Linked DNA regions of Homo sapiens: all the other regions are linked to region 1. The links are contacts of gene promoters, found by promoter capture Hi-C in blood cells and fetal thymus (Javierre and others, 2016). All regions are on one chromosome and are shown on one strand. Each heading gives the region's core, a stretch centred on a gene start or on the middle of the fragment in contact. The rest is flanking DNA. Distances are from core to core; before and after follow the strand shown.

Region 1 (2,991 bases), core at 388-2,887:
TGGTGGCACTTTGGGAGGCCGAGGTGGGCGGATCACCTGAGGTCAGGAGTTTGAGACCAGCCTGGCCAACAGGGGTTAAAAATACAAAAATTAGCCGGGCATGGTGGTGCATGCCTGTAGACCCAACTACTCAGGAGGCTGAGGCAGGAGAATTGCTTGAACCGGGGAGGCGGAGGTTGCAGTGAGCTGAGATTGTGCCACTGCACTCCACCTTAGGCAACAGAGGGAGTCTGAAAAAAAGGAAGAGAAAAGAAAGAGAGAGAGAGAGAAAGAGAGAGAGGTAGGGAGGAAGGAAGGTGGGAAGGGAGGGAAGGGGGGGAAAGGGAGGGAAGGGAGGAAAGGAAGGGAAGGAAAGGAAAGAAAGGAAAGAAAAGATAGAAAAGAAAGGTGGCTCGTGCCTGTAATCCCAGCACTTTGGGGAGCTGAGGCAGGCGGATCACTTGAGGCCATGAGTTCGAGATCAGCCTGGCCAACATGGCCAAACCCTGTCTCTACTAAAAATACAAAAATTAGCCGGGCATGGTGTCTTTGCACGCCTATAATCCCAGCTATCCCTTGAACCTAGGAGTTGGAAGTGGCAGTGAGCTGCAGATTGCGCCACTGCACTCCAGCCTGGGGGACAAGAGCGAGACTCCGTCTCAAAAAAAAAAAAAAAAAAAGTGAAACAAAAAGTGTGCCTTAAAATAGATGAAGTACTGTATTATTATTATTATTAAAGGGCTGGAGCCAGAACAAGTTAGCATTTTGTGCCTCGAGATTCAAATCCCAGGTCTACCATTTATTCCTTGGGTGACATTTTTTTGGGGGGAGGGGCTGGAGGACAGGGTCTCACTCTGTCGCCTAGACTGGAGTGAAGTGGCGCGATCTCGGCTCACCGCAACCTCCGCCTACCGCGTTCAAGCAATTCTCCTGCTTCAGGCTCCCGAGTAGATGGGACTACAGGCGCGCGCCACTACCGCCCGGCTAATCCTTGCGTCACTTTAAGCAAGACACTTGATCTCTCTGTGCCTCAGTTTCCTCACCCGCAGAATGAATATCAATAGCTCCTGCTACACAAAACTGTTTGGGCTATTAAATATGTGAATACTCAGAAAGTACCTGGCACAAAGTAGCCTTATCATTGCTATTATTTAGAACAAAGTTATTGTTTCCAGGTTTGGAGGTGGGCTGGCGGAGGGAGGAGAAGACGCACTAGGTTGCCTTTCAGAAAAGGGGTCCAGGCCTTATCCTGCCTCCCAGGTGGACTCGGCCCGGGATCCCGAGCCCCGCCCCCTCCAGGCCCCGCCCCGCCCCGCCCTCGCTGGCCGAGACTCTGTGCTACTCTCGCGCGCTTTGAAAGTGCGCGAGCTCCGACCGAGACCTGGGCCGGCGGTTGGTCGGCCGAAACCATCTGCTACGTTACGTGGGGGGAGGTCAGCTCCTATACAGCCACACTTTTTTCAATCTTCAGCTTTTCAGGCCTAGGTCCTGGTTTTATTTTAGCTTTCAGAGCTTCTCTGTAGGCTTGAATTTCCAGGAGGCAGCCCGAGTCCCTGGGGAGAGGGTCATCGTGGCTCTCGTCGGTGCCTTCCACCTCTGGACAGGCAACCGGTGGGAGAGGACGCCGGTGGGCGGGGGGAGGAGGCGGCCCTAGCGCCATTTTGTGGGAGCGAAGCGGTGGCTGGGCTGCGCTTGGGTCCGTCGCTGCTTCGGTGTCCCTGTCGGGCTTCCCAGCAGCGGCCTAGCGGGTGAGTCGCGGAGCCTTCTCACTGAGGACGCCGTAGGTGCCTCGGCTTCTGCATTGGGGCGGCCCGAGGCAGACGCAGCGGCTTCGGACCCTGCCCCGGGAAGTCAGCCGTGAGACCGGGCCTAGTCCTGCCCGAGCGGGCTCGCGCGGGAGCGTCGTTAGGTCCTGGCACGGGGAGGCCGGTGGCGCCGAAACGGGGGGCCGGGCCCGCGGTGCCGCGTAGCCTGAGGCGGAGGTTGGCCCCGGACCCGGACAGTGCCGGAGCCTTCGGTACTTTGTACTTCGAGGGACGCTGCCAGCTTGGGCCTGGTGCTCCTGCGCCCCACCCCGGGCCGCGCCGAGAAACTCCTCCCTCGGCTGGCACGCGCGGGCTTCTGGGAGGCGACGGCCGGCACCGCCAGGACCTGTCGCCGCGGGCCTTGGGGCTCGGGCTCGCAGAGCCCCCGGAAGCCCCAAAATGAGGAACAGAGGGAAACTTTTCTCCTGTTCTTTACACCTGGTTCACTGCCCATATTCAGTCTTCAGGTTCAGCTGATGGATCGCTTGCTTAGGAAAATCGACTGGGACCTATCACGCCCATGCCTCAGCCAGTTAGGCTCCTCCTCTGCCTTCAGGATTACTTAACGACTAACCCGATTGTCATAAAATAGCTACTGTTTATTGTTCCCTTGCATACCCTAGCTTGTAACCAGCAAGCCACGTTGGACTCACAGTTACAGTTTCAGTACCTGACGCATCATAAGCCTTCAGGGAAAGTTTTTTGAATGAATGAACTGGCGAGGCATCACATTTTGATAGGAAATCACTACCCTTACCTTCACCTCGTCATTTTTCAGGGATAACCAATGCATATACGAATCCAGACAAGCATTTTTCTGGAAGTCAGAACTCTGACATGGTTTGGGTATTATCATTATAAGGAAACAGTTATTCTGACATGAATGTTGTTCATTCATATCTCTTTTCTCTTTAGGAAAAGTAAAAGATGTCTGAATATATTCGGGTAACCGAAGATGAGAACGATGAGCCCATTGAAATACCATCGGAAGACGATGGGACGGTGCTGCTCTCCACGGTTACAGCCCAGTTTCCAGGGGCGTGTGGGCTTCGCTACAGGAATCCAGTGTCTCAGTGTATGAGAGGTGTCCGGCTGGTAGAAGGAATTCTGCATGCCCCAGATGCTGGCTGGGGAAATCTGGTGTATGTTGTCAACTATCCAAAAGGTTTGTTACCATTTGGTTTTTGTAATCATGCTGAAGTGTGTT
Region 2 (3,057 bases), core at 306-2,805, 620 kb after region 1:
AGTGGCTAGGACCGCAGGCGTGTACCTCCATGCTCAGCCTTTTTTTTTTTTTTTTTTTTTTTTGTAGAGAAGGGGTTGAACCGTGTTCCCCAGGCTAGTCTCAAACTCCTATGATGAAGTGATCATCCCGCCTTGGCCTCCCAAAGTGCTAAGATTACAGGCATGAGCCACCATGCTCGGCCTCCTAATTCTTTTATGTGCCTGGCACATATTAGCCCCTCAATAAATACTTGCTGAATGAATAGATGAATAAATAAAGGCATGAAGAAACGGTTACAAACAGAACAGGCACGGGCGTGCATTTTTCATCTGTTTCTCTGGCTCGTTATGTTCCTAATCTTTCCAAGAATGCACCAGCACTTTTCATCATGGCAGCAATAGAATTCACTGGGTCACACTAATTTCTACTCTCTTGCTTCAAGCACTGCTTGGGCTTGGGACTTTTTCTTCCTCCAACTGTCAAGATGACACTACCCTGAAATCCTCTTGCTAGCTCCAGATGGTGGGCGTCACATGCAAGATGACTCCTGTGCCTGCTGACCTCCAGGACAGTAGAAAGTCTTTCTGCATCCCCAGCAGGCCCCATACGACAGCCCTCATGGTCAGAATTCCAGATGCTGGGGTGGGCAAGAGGACACTCCGGGGGGAAGGGAGCCTTCTCTGTTGCCTTAAAACCTCATGGAAGAGTGAGCTCAGGGGACTAGTGCCTACAGGGCTTTGCAGAGAAAGTAAACATGAACTTGGTAAGAGTTAAGAGCCCAGTTCTAAGTTCTCCCCAAGGTCAGCAGGATACAGCAGCACCAATCCCACTGCCTGCCACTCCGGCAAGTCTTTCTCCTAATTATATCTGAATTATGCAAATCAATACCAATGTCAGTATATGATTTCCTCTAACAAGTTGAGAACATGCAAGAAGTGAAGACCTGGGGAGACGGAAAGCATCTAATTAGGAGCGAGTTTCTGTGTTTTTCTTTTGGTTGAGGGAATAAATGGCTGCATGACAACCCCAGAGAAGACCAGGTAAAGGATGGAGCAGGACAGAGAGTGGAAAGAACACGAAGATGGGCTGTGGGCAGGGGGCAGGGAGATTGGGGCCATGCTGAGAGCGTGATGGGTGCAGCATCAGATGCAGAGCAAAAATGTGATCTTGGCAGCTCTCTTTCCACCAAGCAGTTAAAAATGCCCCAACACTGGAAGTTGGGGGCCCAGTAACACTGAGTAGGCACAGACTGTTACTGAGGACATGGGCTCAGAGAGAGAGAGAAAGTGGAAGGAATGAAGGAAGGAAGGAAGGAAGGAAGGAAGAAAGAAAGAAAGAAAGAAAGAAAGAAAGAAAGAAAGAAAGAAGGAAGAAAGAAAGAAAGAAAGAGAAAAAGAAAGAAAGAGAAAGGGAGGAAGGGGAAGGGAAGGGAAGGGGAGAGGGAGGGGAGGGAGGGAAGAAGGAAGGAAGGAAGGAAGGAAGGAAGGAAGGAAGGAAGGAAGGAAGGAAGGAAGGAAGGAAAAAGAAAAAGTAGGCCAAGTGTGGTGGCTCACACCTGTAATCCCAGCACTTTGGGAGGCTGAGGTGGGAGGATCACCTTAGGTCAGGAGTTTAAAACCAGCCTGGCCAACATGGCAAAACCTCATCAAAAATTAGCTGGGCGTGGTGGTGCAAGCCTGTAATCCCAGCCATTCAGGAGGCTGAGGCAGGAGAATCGCTTGAACCTGGGAGGCAGAGGTTGCAGTGAGCCAAGACCACTTCATTGCACTCCAGCCTTGGTGACAGAGGGAGACTCCATCTCAAACAAAACAAAACAAAACAAAACAAACAAAAACAAAAACAGAAGGGAGCGAGGGAGGGAGGGAGTGTGGGAAGGAGGGAGGAAGGAAGGAAGGAAGGAAGGAAGGAAGGAAGGAAGGAAGGAAGGAAGGAAGGAAGGAAGGAAGGAAAAGGAAGTTACAGCTGTCTTATGCTGGGCCTTTGCTGTGTGCCCCTACTAAGCACTGCACCTCCACGATCTCATTTAATCCTCAACACTCTGAGTTAGGTATGATTAGGACCCCATTTCAGAGATGAAGACAGTGAGGGCAGGAGGTGAAATGTTTGCTATTTACATAGGCTGTAAGTAGCAAAGCTGGGGCACAAACCATGGTATCCAACTGCACCTCACTGCCCCATTAAGTGCAATTGGGGGATTACAGACAGACAGAGCACAGAGAGCCGGCAGGGAGTTGTCTATGGTGGAGAGGGGGAGAGAGGATAAAGACTCCCCCCTTTAAGCTCTGGGGGTCTTGGCAAAAGGATCCCCCCTCTTGAAAGCCTCTAGTGCATGAAAGAAGCACCAGGGCCTGAGGTCCAGGAACGGGAAGTTCATCTGGGTGGGGGTTAGCTTAGCTCCCTTTGGATCACTTTGTTATGGCATCTCCTCCCTGGGTAGGGATAGAACACACCCGATGAGCCCTTTATGTGTTCAATGAACAAATATTCTCCAAGCAGAGGGCCCTGAATGTGGCATTATAGCATAGTGGTTAAGAAGCTGGAATCTGGAGACAGGCTACCTCCGTCCACTCCCAGCTCTGCCACTGGTAGCCATTTGGCTTGTGACAAGTCACCCTCCATGCCTCAGTTTCTTCATCTCAAAAATGGGACTAGGCTGGTTGTGGTGGCTCATGCTTGTAATCCCAGCACTTTGGGAGGCTGCGGCGGGCAGATCACTTGAGGTCAGGAGTTCGAGACCAGCCTGGCCAACACGGCGAAACCCCATCTCTACTAAAAATACAAAAATTACAACCGGGCATCGTGGTGCACACCTGTAATCCCAGCTACTCGGGAGGCTGAGGCAGGAGAATCTCTTGAACCCAGGAGGGGGAGATTGCAGTGAGCCAAGATCGCACCATTGCTCTCCAGCCTAGGTGACAGAGTGAGACTCCATTTTTTTTTTTTTTTTAACTTTTTGAGACAGAGTCTTGCTCTGTTTATTTTACTTTTTGAGACAGAGTCTCACTCTGTTGCCCAGGCTGGAGTGCAGTGGCACTATCCCGGCTCACTGCAACCTCCACTTCCCGAGTTCAAGTGAT
Region 3 (2,817 bases), core at 52-2,551, 660 kb after region 1:
GTAGTCCCAGCTACTCGGGAGGCTGATGCAGAAGAATGGCGTGAACCCGGAAGGCAGAGCTTGCAGTGAGCCGAGATCACGCCACTGCACTCCAGCCTGGGTGACAGAGCGAGACTCTGGCTCATAAAATAATAATAATAATAAATAAATAAAAAATAAATGTTTTCAGTAAAACCAGCCTGGGGTTGGTTTTAGGAGTGGGGAGAGGGGGTCCCTGGCATTTTGGTGGAGAAGCAGCCCCTCTCCCAGGTTACCCTGGCCATACCTGTCCCTCCCACTCCAGTTAATGATGGCTCAGCTCAGCCCAGCCCTTGGGGCCCCTTTATTGAAACAACTCACAGCACAGTATTTGAGACAGACAGTGTTGGCCGGCGGAACCCCAGGAGGCTGAGAAGTCGAGGTTGCGGCATCCCTCACTGCCCTCCTGGGGGAGGCATCCTCCAAGCAGACCTGAGCGGCCCCGGGCTGGGGCGGGCGATCCACACACAGAGGCGATAAGAGCACTTGGAATCAGGGCAGCCATGCAGCACTGCCCTAGGCGGGGATCCCCCAAAGTCTGACAGTTTGGGCATCAGTGGGGTGGCAGGTGCCCCCTCAGCTGCCTTTATGAGCGCGCTCTTCCACGTAAAGCTGCATCTGACGGACACAAGCAAACAGCCACAGTCAGCAAGACAGCCAGGGCATCCCTGCTGGAGGACACAGAAGCCCCTGGTGGGCAGACCTCCACCACAGGTGGGGCCTCGTGGCCATAGCCATGGTGGAGAAGAGTAGAGATGGGAGGAGCCCTCCACCAGGCACTCCCCCGTTCTCTCCCGCAAGCCCTCTAGTAAGGCCTCAGCACCGGGCCTCACTTCGTTAAGCAGCCCCTAAATAAAGCTTCCCGGGTCCCCACGAAGCTCACCTTTAAAATGTCCGACGTCATGGTTTTTAGTGGTATCAGCCGGGGGTCATGCATGTGGACATCCTGCTCATCCGCCAGGATCCAGGGGAAATCCTAGGGAGGAGACAAAGGTCAGGGGGGTGACGGGGCTGGGCCCTGGCCTGCCCTCACTTTGCTGTCCCTCCCACTCCAGACCAGGGGCCTCCAACCTGAGCCTCAGAATCACTAGGAAGCTGTTGGTGATGCAGACCCCAGGACCGCCCCCATCCCCCACAGAGGCCAAGTCCATAGAACCCAAGTGACGAACAGGCTCCAGGCACCAACGCTGAACCTGGTGGGCTAGGACCCCTCCCTGGAGAGCCCCCACTTCAGAAGAGCCAGGATGAGCTGGGGGCCCCAGTAGGTGGCTCCACCTGGGCTCCTCACTGCCCCAAGTGCCCAGATGGAGCAGTGGACAGGCCTGAGGACCTGCTGGGTGCCAGGCGCTGCCACACCAATGTAATGGGTGGCTGGCCACAGGCAGTGCCCCTGCCCGCCTGGAACTGCGACATCACGTTTCTAGAGCCTGCGCCCAGACCCAGACCCATCTCATCTCACCTTGATGACCTGGATCTTCTCCATGTTGCGAGTGGCGGCTTCTCTCGTGTGCACCAGGACTGTGAAGGTACAGCCTGGAGAGGCAAGAGGTTGGTGGAGGCTCCCCCACCGCCCTGGTGCCAGCCACTGGGCCCAGCCTCTTCCCACTTCCCTTGCTGGCTCAGCAGCACCCCCAGAGCAGATGGCAAAGCAAGTGCTAAGAAAAGCCCCAGTCAATAGGGAGATGGAAGCCAGGTAGAATCAATCAGGGAAGCTTCCCAGAGGAGGTGGACTCTCAGGGTTAGGAAGAGATGAGTCTCAGAACAGCCAAACATGGACCTGGGAACACAGACCAACCCGAGATAACCATGGAAATGCCAAGGGAAGAGAGGGTGGGGAGTGGACACACCTGGGGGGTTGTGGTCCAGGACGGCATCGCACACGCTGATCTTCAGGATGAAGGCCCGGAGCAGCTGCTCCACATGAGACAACAGCGAGTCTGAGCTGGGAGTGAGAGGAGGTCTTCCCATCACACTGGCGCCCTCCCCTCCACCACAGGCATCAAGCCTGGATGCAGACCTGGGGTACAAGACCCCCTCCAGTGCCTGTGAGAGTGCTGCATGCCTAGGACCCAGCTCCCTATCCGGTCCACACAATTAAACCAGCAAGGGAGTTTAAAAGAAATGCCCAGCCCCACCCCAGATAAAGTCAGAATTCGGCGGGGGGTAGGGGACAGGGGAGGTAGGGGCAGCCTGAGGAGGCCTCCCTAGGTGGTTTTAATGTGCAGCCAGGACCCAGAACCAGGACACCAAGCCAGGAGGGGAAAGGGCTTGCCTAAGGCCACACAGGCCGTGGGGACAGGTTGGTGCCAGATTCCAGTGCCCTGACCTCACCATTGGAAGCATGCAGTTGACCAACTAACGCATGTGCCAGAGGTCAACTTCGAGTTGACTGGACACTTGCCTGGGGAGTCAGAAAACTGCTTCTGTGTCCTGGGCTCTGCCCCCACCCAGGTGACCCTGGGTAGCTCATGTCATCTCTCTGGACCCATCTCAGCTGCTCACAGGCTGTCCCCTTGTCATGCTGGTGCTTCTTGCCCTTTCTCCTCCCAGGCCTTTACCAAGGTATTCAAGGGCCGCCTTAAAGGGGTGGGTGTGTTGCCAGAGACACACCTGATGCCAGCTAGTGGGCGAGGGGCAGGGGCAGCCCACCTGATGGACAGCAGTGGAGGCTGGGTGATCTCAAAGACGAATTTCTCCACTGGGCGGTGCTCTTTATCCAAAATCACCACCACCACTTTCTCCACATCATTCTGCAAAGAGAGGAACCCCCACTGCAGAGCCAGGCACCCCACCCCGACT
Region 4 (2,700 bases), core at 71-2,570, 750 kb after region 1:
TCTGTTGCTCAGGCTGGAGTGCAATGGCAGGATCTTGGCTCTCTGCAACCCTTGCCTCCCAGGTTCAAGTGATTCTCCTGCCTCAGCCTCCTGAGTAGCTGGGATTACAGGTGCCCGCCACCATGCCCGGCTAATTTTTGTATTTTTAGTAGAGACAGGGTTTCACCATGTTGGCCAGGCTGGTCTTGAACTCCTGATCTTGTGATCCGTCCACCTCAGCCTCCCAAAGTGCTGGGATTACAGGTGTGAGCCACTGTGCCTAGCCTTTCTTTCTTTCTTTCTTTTAACAAGAAATTTGTTATAGTTTTATTTTCCTTTGCATTTGCAAAATACTTAGGACCAACATGAAAAAGAAATACCTTCTATGGGGAAAAAAATGGCATTAAAAAGGAAGATGGGAAGGCTGAAAGGGATTTGTGCCTTAGTTGCAAGGAGCTGCAGCATCTCTGGTCCAAGGAATCAAAAAGATATTGGGAAGATATAACAGGAGGAAGAAGAATGTGAATTTACTGAGGGAGAGGGCCCCAAAGTGGGCCTTGAGGGGGAACTGGAGGCCCCGGAGTGGGTCTGGGTGGAGGGAGAGTCCCCCCCGGAAGCCATAGGGTGGGTGTTGGGGAGGGCCAGTGTATCCATGAGGCAGCATCGGTGGAGGAGGTCCACACATACCATGGAGGCATAGGACGTGAGTGACCCATGGGAGATCCAGACCGAGACCCCTTGGGGGACATGCTCATTGGAGGAGGTCCAGGATGAGGCATTCCAGGTGGTGATCAGGGTGGTGGCTGCCCCCCAGATCCTGGGGTCCCATCACGGGTGTGTCCTCAGCCATGAGGGCCATGGTTTGCCAGCTGCATCTGAGACATCCCTGGATGGGACATCGCACCTATTGGGAACGGGTGAGGATGTGAGTGTCCATGACCCGGATGTCCTGCCCCTGGGGTTCCTACCAGTGGGAGCCGGGGGCATGTCCTGCAGCCCCAAGAGGCATAGGTGGTGGGGACATGGCTGGGGGTATCCCAGATGTGCGGGGGCTCCAGGAGGCAGCTCTAGGTGCGGGAAGGAGCCAAGAGGAGGCACGCCTGGTGGAGGAAGCCCAGACCCCAGTGATGCTGCCACAGGATTCGGGGCAGAGGGTGGAGGAGGTTCCCGGGGACCTGATGGCCAAGAGAATGTCGCTCATCTTGCACGTGCAAAAGTTGCCCTGGGACCACGTGCCTTGCCTGCGGAGGACCCGGCAAAACCTGTACCAGGACGTCGGTGGCCACGCCCACGGCTCAGGGCTGGGCGGGGCCAAGCGCGGGGCAGCACGCTCTGCTCTCCGACGTCCCCTCCCGCCCGCGACCTGCCGACCTGCGGGGATCGTTAGCGGTCCCAGCCCCCGTCTAGATTCAAATCCGACTGGGTGAAGGAGGACCCGAGGAGGACCCACGCACGTGAGGGCAGATCCATGAGGGCAGGAAACTGACCTCAGACTCTTTTGGTGGCAAGAGGAGGGAGGCTGTGAGCCCCCTTAAGTGGACAGGGGTGGGGGTGGAGTGGGAGGGGGGAGTCTGAGGGAGACGGACGAGGAGCGGAGAAATGGACCGAAGAGCTCCGGCGTGAGGGGCAGGGGTGCAGGAAGGTCTCCTGTGGATTGAGCGGCCTCAAGTCAACTTGGGCAAGAGGGGATGGTGGGGTGTTCTTGGTTAGGAGTCTGCGCTGTGGAGCCAGCCCTGGGGTGCTCCCTCTGAGGCCTTGGGTGGGACAGGCCCTTCTAAGCTCCTGTCCTCATTTCTAAAACAGGGAACCTAAGTCCCAGGGCTGCAGTGCAGATTAAATGGCAGGACGCCTGCTGAAGGCTGCAAGGTGCCTAGCACGGTTGTCATTTATTCAATGTGCATTTACAAGCCCCTGCTGGGGGTCAGGCATTGTTCTATGGGCTGCAAATCCAGCAGGGAAACAAACAAACAAAAAAAACCAGCCTGCCCTCGTGTGGCTCCTAGGCCACTGGAGGGAGAAATACACTAATTTCTTCACTATGTTAGGTGGCCGCAAGTGCAGGGCAAAGAGAGTGAGGAGAGGCCAGGTTGCTGCAGTTGGAGAGACAGTGGGCAGGGAGGGCTCACTGTGATGTGGGAGGCAAGACTTGAAGGCAGAGGGGACAGCAGCACAGAGGCGCTGAGGTGAGGTCGTGTGTGCCATTTGGAGGAGCAGCCAGGGGGCTGGTGTGTGTGGAGGACAGTGGGCAAGGGGAAGAGGAATTGGGGAGGACCATAACTGGCAGCCAGATTTTAAAGACTTTGCGGGGCTGGGTGTGGTGGCTCACGCCTGTAATCCCAGCACTTTGGGAGGCCGAGGCGGGCCAATCACCTGAGGTCAGGAGTTCGAGACCATCCTGGCCATCATGGTGAAACCCTGTCTCTACCAAAAAATAGAAAAATTAGTCTGGCGTGGTGGCATGTGCCTGTGGTTCCAGCTTGTTAGAGGCTGAGGTGGGAGGATCCCTTGAGCCCAGGGAGGCAGGCGGAGGTTGCAGTGAGCCGGGATCACGCCATTGTACCAGCCTGGGTGGCAAAGTGAGACTCCGGCTCAAAAAAAAAAAAAAAAAGGTTTTGCAGCCTAAGGTATCTTGCAGCTATTGAGCTCTGCTATTGCAGCTGGAAAGCAGACAGTCTGTAAACAAATGGGCTTTGTTTCAATATAACTTTATTCACATAATAG

What was found. Contacts are between HindIII fragments. The CHiCAGO score rates a contact against its expected background, and 5 or more counts as called.
Region 2: a contact is called between a fragment that was not itself captured here and the fragment with the promoter of TARDBP in region 1, in 1 of 17 cell types (erythroblasts). The highest score is 5.7, in erythroblasts.
Region 3: a fragment that was not itself captured here is called in contact with the fragment with the promoter of TARDBP in region 1 in 2 of 17 cell types (naive B cells and fetal thymus); the score reaches 5.4 in naive B cells.
Region 4: the fragment with the promoter of C1orf167 here is called in contact with the fragment with the promoter of TARDBP in region 1 in 3 of 17 cell types (fetal thymus, erythroblasts and total B cells); the score reaches 7.3 in fetal thymus.

The regions. Positions count from the first base shown.
Region 1 is chr1:11,011,017-11,014,007 of GRCh38, forward strand. It overlaps TARDBP (TAR DNA binding protein), which reads left to right and starts at 1,638. Exons shown (of 6, transcript NM_007375.4): 1 at 1,638-1,727; 2 at 2,700-2,949. The coding sequence starts at 2,712. RefSeq lists silencers at 1,071-1,300, 2,710-2,956 and enhancers at 1,341-1,670, 1,381-2,348. The HindIII fragment of the contact is 20,579 bases long and covers 1-2,991 here.
Region 2 is chr1:11,630,596-11,633,652 of GRCh38, forward strand. No RefSeq gene overlaps it. Among named protein-coding and RNA genes, the nearest start is that of FBXO2, 22 kb to the right of the region's middle. The HindIII fragment of the contact is 9,749 bases long and covers 1-3,057 here.
Region 3 is chr1:11,674,181-11,676,997 of GRCh38, forward strand. FBXO6 (F-box protein 6) reads left to right here. Exons shown (of 6, transcript NM_018438.6): 6 at 1-174. MAD2L2 (mitotic arrest deficient 2 like 2) reads right to left here. Exons shown (of 9, transcript NM_006341.4): 5 at 2,668-2,768; 6 at 1,866-1,960; 7 at 1,478-1,551; 8 at 902-994; 9 at 300-636. The coding sequence ends at 595. Among named protein-coding and RNA genes, the nearest start is that of MAD2L2, 5.6 kb to the right of the region's middle. The HindIII fragment of the contact is 854 bases long and covers 875-1,728 here.
Region 4 is chr1:11,760,873-11,763,572 of GRCh38, forward strand. It overlaps C1orf167 (chromosome 1 open reading frame 167), which reads left to right and starts at 1,321. Exons shown (of 21, transcript NM_001010881.2): 1 at 1,321-1,433. It also overlaps the pseudogene LOC101060126. The HindIII fragment of the contact is 5,648 bases long and covers 1-2,700 here.